Linked DNA regions of Homo sapiens: all the other regions are linked to region 3. The links are contacts of gene promoters, found by promoter capture Hi-C in blood cells and fetal thymus (Javierre and others, 2016). All regions are on one chromosome and are shown on one strand. Each heading gives the region's core, a stretch centred on a gene start or on the middle of the fragment in contact. The rest is flanking DNA. Distances are from core to core; before and after follow the strand shown.

Region 1 (3,230 bases), core at 343-2,842, 310 kb after region 3:
CAAGAGGCTGAGGCAGGAGGATCACTTAAGCTCAGGAGGTCAAATCTGCAGTGAGCCATGATCATGCTACTGCATTCCAGACTGGACAACAGAGAAAACCTGTCTCAAACAAACAACTCTAGACCAGAACTCCTTAGGGAAATGGATGGAAGGGTTCCTTTCATTTCCTTGCTTGGCCACCCTGTGATCATTAAACTCTTTCTTTGCTGCAAACTCTGCTGTTTCAGTGTATTGGTCCTTACTGCACAGTGAGCATATGAACCTGGTGGTCCTGTAAGTCCTCTTTATTTTTCTCTGTTCATTCTTTCCATGGATAATTTAACTATTACCAATTTTAAATGTCACCTCTAAAGACACATCTACCTCTCTACCTTACTGAGCTTTTTTATAATGGAATTTTCTGTTTACTTTTCTAAGTGGACAAACAGTGCTATGCTGACAGGCAGTTGTTAGGTTTTCTGTTTTTCTGTGATGGGAGTCAGTTTTGTGTGTAAATCAGTTATAATTATATAAAGTCATGATGAACTCAAGGTCAAGTCCTTGTTTGGTCATACCAAGCTGAGAGATAACACTATTTCTGTGGGAAAACTTGATTTACTCTACACCGTGGTCTTTATGAAATATAATGTTGCACAAGGCAGACATTGAATGGAATGGGTCAGTAGTAAACCCATTTACAGCAAAAGTGAGCTTTGGAATGAAGACCCAGGCTGGCATTTTGTTGGTGCTCTTACATTGATAATTGGGCCTGGTCACTTTTCCTGGGCCCAGGGGCTGGTGCCTTTGCTTCCTGAACAGCAAAGAGTATATAGACTTCTATTTTTTTCTCCTCAAAGTCTCTGCAAGGAGCATAGACTTCCAAGGCCCAGGTTGCTAGTAGCCTCCTACCAGGAGCTAAATAAATCATCTGGCAGCCAAGCAGAGCCCAGGGCAGTGTGGCATAAGGGCATAAAGTGTGGGTTTAGGCTCCATAGGAGGGGCCCTCTGAATCTTGGGCCTACCACTCTGCCAACCCTCCACCTCCTCCAGGTTTCATGAGCTCCCACTAGCATGCTCACCACCAGGGCTATAGCAATAGCCTTGGTACCCCTGGGGCCCAGGCCGTGGTGGTTGAGGTTCACGTAGGACTCCTCCATGTTCCGAATGAAGTAGGAGACAGGCACTACACCCATCAGCTTGCAGGCCTCCAGGTACAGCTCCTTTTGTCCAGTGGTGAAAAATTTCTCATCATCTGCAGAGAAAGATGGGCTGAAGTAGGATTTCTCTTCCACCTTTGCCTTCTCTCCCCTCTAGCCCCAGTGACATTCACTCATGTCTAGACTGTCCTCTGCCAGAGGATCTCTCCCTGTGGGTATGTGCTAAGAAGCCTGCTCCTGTCTGGGAAGTCAGTCCATGGTGGGAGAGGGAGACTCTAACTCCAGAAAGTCCCAGATGAATGTTTCCCTTTGGGTAGGAGATGAGGCCCATGGTTTTAGGCCAGAAGCTTTCCTAGAAGTGAGCAGTGGGCTTCACCCCACCTGCCCAGGTTGGCCACATCCAGTGACTGGTCATCAAGGACATAGAAGGCCCAAGCCCTCTTGCCCACCTTTGGACAATTCTGAAAGGCCAAACGCGGATGACTTTTGATGGTTGATGGAATCTTCATTTCACTTTTAGTTTCACCGCCACTATCACAAGGTTGTGAGTCATGAAAAAAGCTTCACCAAAGACTTAGAGAGGCACCAACATTTAAAAAGCCCAACTAGGACAGAGTGGACTTCTCAAAATGGCAAACCAGTGAATATGGAAAGACCTCCACATCAGCGAGAAACAAGCATGCTTGCATGTGAATGGTCTTTCTTCTTTCAAAAGCTTGCATGTCATTTTCCTTATAAAAAGGACTGTCATCCTTGCTTTATTGACGACAAACCTAGCCTCAAATAACACACAGTTGGTCAATGCTAAAACCAGCTAACAGAAGTGGGGACTGCACCTTTCCATTCTAACCCCTGGGGGCCTTTATTTCTTAGGCTTTAGGCCAGCCTGGCCCATGGTCACTGGGCATCGGGCCTCCCTGGATTCTGGGTGCCCCACAGCTGTGTCCTCATTAGGCAAGTCCAGCCTATGGCAGGGCTTCCTGAGGCCAGCTGGCGTCTATGTCTGCATCTGTTTTTCCTTCAGATCCCAGGGCCTTTGGCCAACCCCCTCCCCCTCCAAACAATCTAAGGCTGACAATGGGAGCTTTGTTGGTGAAAGGACAAGTGCTTTACAGGGAAGCTGATTTTGCAAGCACAACTACAAATTAGACTTCTCTTTGGGACGCTTGTACAGCAGCGCTTCTCAGCCTCAGCACTGCAGGTATTTTGGGCTGGATAATTCTGTTCTGAGGGCTGTCCTATACATAGTAGGGTGTTTAGTAGGATCTCTGGCGTGGACCCACAAGATGCCAGTAGCAACCCCCCTCCCCTAGTTTGCCCAATGTCCCCTTGGTGCAAAATTGCTTCCAGGTGAGAACCACTGTTGTGGAGAAAAACAGCTCATGGCAAGTGAGCAAACCAGGCTCGTCTCCCCCTTTTCTCTAGACTCACAGCCAGCACTGCTCCCAGCTGGCCCATTTCCCATGCCCTCCCTGCCCATTCCCAGTGTCTCAGCACCCACAGCAGGAGCACCAGGAGCCAGGGCTGCTGAGCCCCGAGTTACCATTCAGGACAGAGTTTTTGGTGCCACATTCAGCCATTAGAGGTTCCTGTTGGCAAAAGCAGGGAAGGTAACCCCCAGGTTTTGTCCCTGGGACTAATTCTGCTGGGTTTGATGCTGACCCTTTCTAGCTGTGTTCCCTATTGTTATATTTTATGGGCAGCTTGCGACAGTGTTAGCACTTGCTGCAGTCAGGGGAAGAGATGGGGGAATGAGATAGAAACAGGACCCTTTGGCCAAACATCCAGTGTTGTCCTTTGCTACCTTCTCCAACCATGTGAATGAAGTTGGGTGTTAGAAGCAACGTTAACAACAGACTTGAAGTGGACAAGAAGCCAGAAAAAGAGCAACAAGCTGCCTGGGGGTCAGCGGGGAGGAGGTCTGCGTAGAAGGGTGAAGATGTATGTTGTATGTTGACCATGGTGGGGAGGTTTATAAACTGACTCTATGCAGATGAACTTCACAGTTTAATTTGGCAGAACTGGCCTTCCTCCATCTCTGCTGCCTGTGAATCACTGCCCACCAGCCAGCTGCAAGGATGCAGGGGAGGAAGG
Region 2 (3,357 bases), core at 92-2,591, 290 kb after region 3:
TGCAGCATAGGGGAGGGGAACATGGAGCTAAGCCTTGCAGGACTAATGAGGATTAGTGAGGTCTGAGGAAGGGGGGCAAAACCAGAGGAGGAAACAAGATTCACCAAAGAAGAAAAGAGTAGGCAAGTGCAAAGGCATAGGGGTGTGAAACAGCAAGAGATGTTTGTGAGCAGAAGCAGAGAGAATGAGGCCACAGAGCTGGGATGGGCCACATCATGGAGAACCTTATAGGCTTGGAGAAGGAACAAGGACATTATCCCAGTGGAGCTAGGAGCTGCTGAAGCATGGATGGAAGTTAATGGAAGGGACTGTGGAGCCTGGTGGCTCTGCTTACCAGCTGCCTGGCCTTGCATTAATTCCCTGATCACTTTGTACTTATCACCTATGGCTGCTCTGAGGACTTACCATATCAATTCAGGCAAAGCATTAAAACAAGTGCCTGGTATGCAGTATGCTGTCAATGAACAATAGTTCTTATTATTGAAGGCTTTCAGCTAAGTGGCTTCAACATGAGGCAGCCAAAACTCTTACTGAGCCCCTAGTATATGTCAGCTGCGTCCCAGGCTCTGATGTACTCCAGTGAGAAAATGCAGACTAGGGCCTGGACCTCGTGGAGCTCAGCATCTGGAATCCTTTGCTGGACTCACTTCCTAATGGGAATTCCTTATTTTTCCAAGCTTAGGGCAAGGGGCATCAGGGCTGGATGTGGAGACCCATAGATAATTCCTGTGGCAAAGTTGATGTGGTCTCCATGATGGCCAAACTAAGAGTTTTGTCTTAAACTTTTCTCTTTTACTTCTAAAACATTTTAGAAAATTGAAATATATTCATTACATATGGTCATTGTGGAAAAATGAGAAAAGCGGTAAAAAATGGTTTAAACCATGTATACCCACAAAACAGCAAAGACCTCTATTGCCATTTTGCTGAGGCAACTGCTTAATCTTTTAAAATTCAGTTTCTCAGACTGTCCCTGGCTTCCTCAGCCACTGGGGCTGAGCCACCCACAGCCTGGGTCAGTCTCTGTCTGAGTTGTGCCTGGCCCCGCTCCACCCCAGCTGGGACTCCCAGATCTCCTGGTCACTAGATGGCCAGTCTGTTTGGTCTGTAGTCACTGTGCTCCTTCTGCCTGTCAGAATCTGGCTTCCTCCTGTCCTCTTAGCAGCTCCTCATGGTTGTCCTCTCAGATGGCAGCCCCTTCCTCACTGTCTCCTCACTGCTTTCCTTCTTCAGGACCCTCACATCTGTGGTCTCTCCAACCACCCTCACATCTTGAGGGAGTTGGAGTTGCCATGGAAAACCACGTACAGCAGGCTTCCCTCTGCCTCCTGCTACTTGTGTGGCATAAGCAATCACACAGCCTCAGTTTTCTCATCTGACAAGTGGGGCTAACAGAGCCCACATTACCAGGTGAGGCTATGAGTAACGACAGCTGGCTCTTGGCAGGTGCCCCAGAAAGGGGGATGATTAATAGAAGTCCTCACCTTTCATTTATTTTCCAACTGCTCAATAGCATCTATATTATAAATTAGCATCTACTAGTAAATTAATTTAAAATGAAATATGTATTCATTAATTCATTCATTCATCAGAAGCACACTGGGCTTCTACAGTGTGCCCAACACTATGCTAGGTATGAGGGACTAGGTATGAGGAGTTTAATGATGGGCAAAACCAGTCTTCATTCTTTTTTTTGAGACAGAGTCTTGCTCTGTCACCCAGGCTGGAGTGCAGTGGCATGGTCTCGGCTCACTGCAACCTCCGCCTCCTGGGTTCAGTGATTCTCCTGCCTCAGCCTCCCAAGTAGTTGGGATTACAGGCATGCACAATCACGCCTGGCTAATTTTGTATTTTTAGTAGAGACAAGGTTTCACCATGTTGGCCAGGCTGGTCTTAAACTGGTGACCTCAAGCGATCCACCCACCTTGGCCTCCCAAAGGGCTGGGATTACAGGCATAAGCCACCGCACCTGGCCCAAACACAGTCTTCATTCTGATGAAGCTTTCACATTTGAGGGGATGACAGGCGAGCAAAGAGCCCTCACATGCATGGAATTAGGAAGGGCAGCAAGTTCCATGGGAAGTAGGGAGCAGGGCTCTGGGAGCAGGTCCCCTAGACGGAGGATCCCAGCAGCAAGCAAGTGGAGGCGGAGTGGCCAAGCCTCTGTAGTAGGAGGAAAGGAGTGGAGAGAAGACCAGGGGGTCTTGGGTGCAGAGCAAGGGAGAGCACCGGGTGGACTGAGGCTGGAGGGGCACTTGGGGCTCAGCGAACAGGATCTGAGCAACAGGAAGCCATGCAGGGGTCTAAGCTGAAAGACAGGAGACTGAGGGGCTGGGGGAAGGGGAATGGATGTCAGATTTGTGTTCAAAAAGCACATTCTGAGGGCTAGGCACAGTGGCTCATGCCTGTAATCCCAGCACTTTCGGAGGCCGAGGTGGGAGGATGGTTTGAACCTGGGAGGCGGAGGTTGCAGTGAGCCAAGATTGTACCACTGCACTCCAGCCTGGGGGACAGAGCCAGACCCTGTCTCAAAACAAAACAAAACAAAACAAAAAGCACACTCCGGTGGCAATGTGGAGAAGATCCTGAAGGAGACCCAGATGGGAGGAAGGTGGAGAAGATCCCGAAGGAGACCCAGATGGGAGGAAGGAAGACCTGTTAGAAAGATCTGCAGTGTACCAGGGAGCACTGAGGGTGACACTGGCTTTATAGTAGAGAATGGTCACTGCATTTACAGTCAAGAGATGGTAAAAAGTACATGCATATATGAAGTACAGATATTCCCAATTATTCTCTCCAGTACTCTGCAGCCCCCAACTTATCCCAACACATACACAAACACACACACACACACACACACACACACACACCCTTTCCAGCTGAAGACTACCTTCAGAACTCTGAGGCTTTCATTGGATTCCAGTCCTTTGCTGATTTTGGAGGCCCCTTCATTGCCGATGTCATTGCCACCGATATCCAGGTAGACCAGGCAGCGGTTGAGTCGGAGGACTTCCCCTAGGGCCAGAGCCACCTCATTCCCAAAGCCATTCATGGAGAGATCCAGCTTTGTCAGGGTCACATTACCCTCCAGGAAGAGGGGAGAACAGCACCAGCATCAAGGTTACGCGTGACTCATCCAACCAAAAGGGTCCCGATTTCTACCCCCTGTTGGCATCCAGACCGGGTGCTCAGTGGTCCCCAGGACTGATGGGTCTGCCAGATCATTCAGAGCTCCCAGCTGGGCTCAGTCTCAAGTACTCATGAGACTCCCTCCCTTTGGCTTCTGGTCATTCCCTACCCACTAATTAAACTGTCCTCTTGAAGTGTATCCAAAGATGTCACCCTGGCCTCAGCAGA
Region 3 (3,342 bases), core at 791-3,290:
CTCATAGGGCCAGAATCCAAGTGAAGTTTTCATATTGATTTTGCCTCCCTATTGATTTTGTCAGGGATAAGCATAAGTTTTAGAAAAACAAAATGACATTTGCCGTGCTTCCCTTCACTCCATTCCTTAAGGGGAGCTGAGGAACCACTAGCTTTAGATCTGAAGCTGTAATGTCCTTTTCTGTTGATAAACGATATTTCTAAATAAATAATCGTCCTTGTCCATTTGTGTTTCCACGACCAGATCTCCTTTTCCTGACTGAATACTCCCTTCCCCCACTAACATCTTCCCACGTTCGCTTAGCTTCTTTCTCTCTTTCCCTTTCCTCATACACACAGATTCAGACACACACCTTCCCACCTCACACCCATATGCAAAATAAAATTAGAAATACCACCCGACTCACAAGGTATTTGGGGAATGGAGATCTTCAGTCAGTATACCCAAACCCAAGCACCCCAGCCAGCCTCCCTCCCTGCCAAGCCCATGTGAGAGGCAGACAGAGCTTGTGAAAAGGGGCCCAGACGGCCACGATTATGAGACAAAGCTGCTCTGAAGGGAAAAGGGCCATGTGTGCCTCCCCATGTCTGTCCTGTGGCCACTGGAACTCACAAGGCTACCAGCTGCTCACGGCCACCATGTGGCATATACTGTTCTTTCACTTACATGTCAGATCCTTTTAGAATGTGAAAAGGTTTCCTGGCCTCTTTTTTATTTTGATGTATGCTGATAAATTACAGAGGAAACAGTGTGTGGTTATTCAAGAATAGAGGCTGAGCTGATCAGCATATGGCCCTCATTTCAAGGGATTGCTCTTGTTTTAATCAGCCAGTTGAGAAAGCAATAAATGTTTATTTATTAAGTATGCCATCACCGAGAGGAGAGGAACAGGGCAGGTAGGTGAGCTGCGACACCCAGGAAATTGAGGATGGTGATGGCACCAATATTCCTGCAGTGTTTGATGTTTTTAAGGCTCTGCTCCCCCCACCCCCCACTGTTTGATACACATTGGTGTCACTACCCTCTTGGCGCATCACAGTACCCACCTTAGAATAGCGGAGCCCTGGAAGGGGAAGGAAATAGAAATAAGAAGGTGGGGGTGAGGCTCAAAGAAGAAGCTCCAAGTTCAAGCTCTGTGTCTGGATAAACTCCCATTGTCTTTCCTTCTCTCAAATCAGAGCTGCCCGTGGGTCCCAGGGTGATGCTGGGCTGTGTAGAGGCTGAGTGCAGGAGCATTAATGCTAGAACCAGGTTCAAGTCCAGGCTCTGTCACTTAATGGCTGTATGACCTTAGACATGAGACTTAGCTTCTCTGAGCTTCAACCTCCTCATCTCCAGAATGGGGCTCAGCCAGCTTCACAGATCAGGCTGAGAGGATTAAGGAAGCATCTTATGCTAAAGGCTTAGCACAATGCCTGCTACCTAGTAGGGGCCCGATAAGTAGTGTCTAATTATGATCTAATCAAGCAGTGCTTGCCCTGGGCAGGCCCTGTTTAAGGGTTTTACATAGATTGTCATTTAACCCTCATATCTCTATTTCACAGATGAGGAAACTGGAATCTAAGATCACACTGGAATTTACAGACGAAGAAACTGGAATCTGAGATCTCACAGTAGTGAATGGTGAATATTCAAACCCAGGTAGACAGGCTCCAGAGTCCCAACTCCCAACCCTCTGTACACAGCCCTTCCGAGGAGATGACGCTGATCTTCATGGGTGTTGCCCTGGCAAGCTGACCTCTCAAGCCCCCAGGGTTCCTTCAGTCCGAGTGGAGAGCAGGGAAGGTCGTGGGACCTAGCCGAGAGGGAAGGGCAGGATGATGGCTGGAGAATCCACATCAGGGCTGAATCCCAATCTCCCAGCTGGAACGGGCGCTGAAACCAGGCAGGGCGCCCCAGCCCGCTCAAGGGGAATCGAGAGGGGAGGAGGGGGCAAGTCCACGATGCTGAGACTGGCGGCCAGAGCACCGCCCCCAGGAGCGGAGGGAGGGGTGGCGGGGCTGGGGGGTGCCCAGCTGCCATCCCCGCCGCTTCCTGGCCCTTACTCGCTGGCGCCCAAGTGGGAAGCCAGCAGCTGCCCGCTCCCTCCTCCCCACATCCCCGCTACTTGCCCAGTTCCCGAAGCGAAGCGCAGGCTGCGAGCCAGCCGGGCCGAGTCCACAACTTTGCAGCCTCGGGCAGGGCGAGAGCCGGCGTCCGGGGCTCCTCTTGTCGGCGACCAGAGCTCGGTGAGTTGATTTCCTCACCCCTCTGCGACGGCGGCAGTGCGGCGGCGGCGGCGCGGGGGGCGGCTTCCCGTGCGTCCGGGAGGCAGTGGCCGAGAAGCCCGCGGCTGCCGGCGCTGCCGGTCTTTCCAAGGCTCCGGCTGTGCCGCCCTCTGCCGCGGGCGAGGCGGGCGCCAGGGCTGAACGGACAGCTCCCTACACCCCGGGGCCCCACGGGCGGTCTCTGCTGTCCCTTCTCCCGCGCAGGGCCAGGGCTGAGGCTGCCTGCCGAGCGCCCCTCACTCCCCTAGCCCCTGTCCTTCGCCGCCTTCCCAGCGCTGCGGCGCATCTGGCTGCTCCCGCGCCCCCCTGGCGACCGGCGCCGGGAAGGCACTTGCTTCGCCGGAGCCCCAGGCCGAGGGCTCTCTGGGGTGGGCAGCACCGCCGCAGCCCCCGGCGGCGCAGGACTGGGGGCGTGCCCAGCCCCCGGCGACCACCCTCAGGCGTGCACTGCGCTGCGCCCCAGCGGTAGGGAGAGGCCCACGCTCTCCGCGGAGGCTGCGGGTTCCCGGGGGGCGCTGGGACCTGCAAAGGGGATTCCAAGGTGACCAGTCGACCCGTGCGGACGGGACAGCCTGGACGGAGGCCCCGTGGCATCCACCCATCCTAGGTGCAACCGCCTTCCCAGAACTTTTCTCGCGCCTCCGGCTGGCCGATTCCTTAGCCCCTGGAAAAGTTCTCTCGGGCGCACGGAATCCTATTTCTCGGTGGCTTCCGAAGCTGGCCAGGAACCCCGGCTGTGAGGCGTGGGGTGGGATGGGGACGTGGTGAGGGCTGAGCACGGCGGCGGGGTCGATCCCAGGAAAGGCTGGCCAAGCATCCACTCGTGCGCCCAGGGCGGGCTTGTCGGCATGGAAAGGATTTCGGCGCCATGAGGGTTGTTTGGGTTTCTCTCAGCAGGAGGGCGGGAGGCGGGCGCGAAGGGGGGATTTTAATTTCGCCTCAAATGAAAACGCTCTTCGCAAAGAAATAGCCCGGGCAGCCAGCGTTGGAGAGATGTGCTGGCCAGGACCCGCTGACACAGGTATTCTGGTTGCGCCCCCACCTCACCCGGTGCCCGAGAGCGAGTGTGAGTGTA

What was found. Contacts are between HindIII fragments. The CHiCAGO score rates a contact against its expected background, and 5 or more counts as called.
Region 1: a fragment that was not itself captured here is called in contact with the fragment with the promoter of ZDHHC22 in region 3 in 1 of 17 cell types (neutrophils); the score reaches 5.1 in neutrophils.
Region 2: a fragment that was not itself captured here is called in contact with the fragment with the promoter of ZDHHC22 in region 3 in 1 of 17 cell types (neutrophils); the score reaches 6.2 in neutrophils.

Annotation. Positions count from the first base shown.
Region 1 is chr14:76,829,204-76,832,433 of GRCh38, reverse strand. LRRC74A (leucine rich repeat containing 74A) reads right to left here. Exons shown (of 14, transcript NM_001385106.1): 3 at 1,059-1,231. Among named protein-coding and RNA genes, the nearest start is that of LRRC74A, 4.4 kb to the right of the region's middle. The HindIII fragment of the contact is 214 bases long and covers 1,486-1,699 here.
Region 2 is chr14:76,852,944-76,856,300 of GRCh38, reverse strand. LRRC74A (leucine rich repeat containing 74A) reads right to left here. Exons shown (of 14, transcript NM_001385106.1): 9 at 2,891-3,085. Among named protein-coding and RNA genes, the nearest start is that of LRRC74A, 28 kb to the right of the region's middle. The HindIII fragment of the contact is 1,324 bases long and covers 680-2,003 here.
Region 3 is chr14:77,140,489-77,143,830 of GRCh38, reverse strand. ZDHHC22 (zDHHC palmitoyltransferase 22) reads left to right here and starts at 2,040. Exons shown (of 3, transcript NM_174976.2): 1 at 2,040-2,228. RefSeq lists enhancers at 1,926-2,427, 2,522-3,085, 3,086-3,342. The HindIII fragment of the contact is 23,253 bases long and covers 1-3,342 here.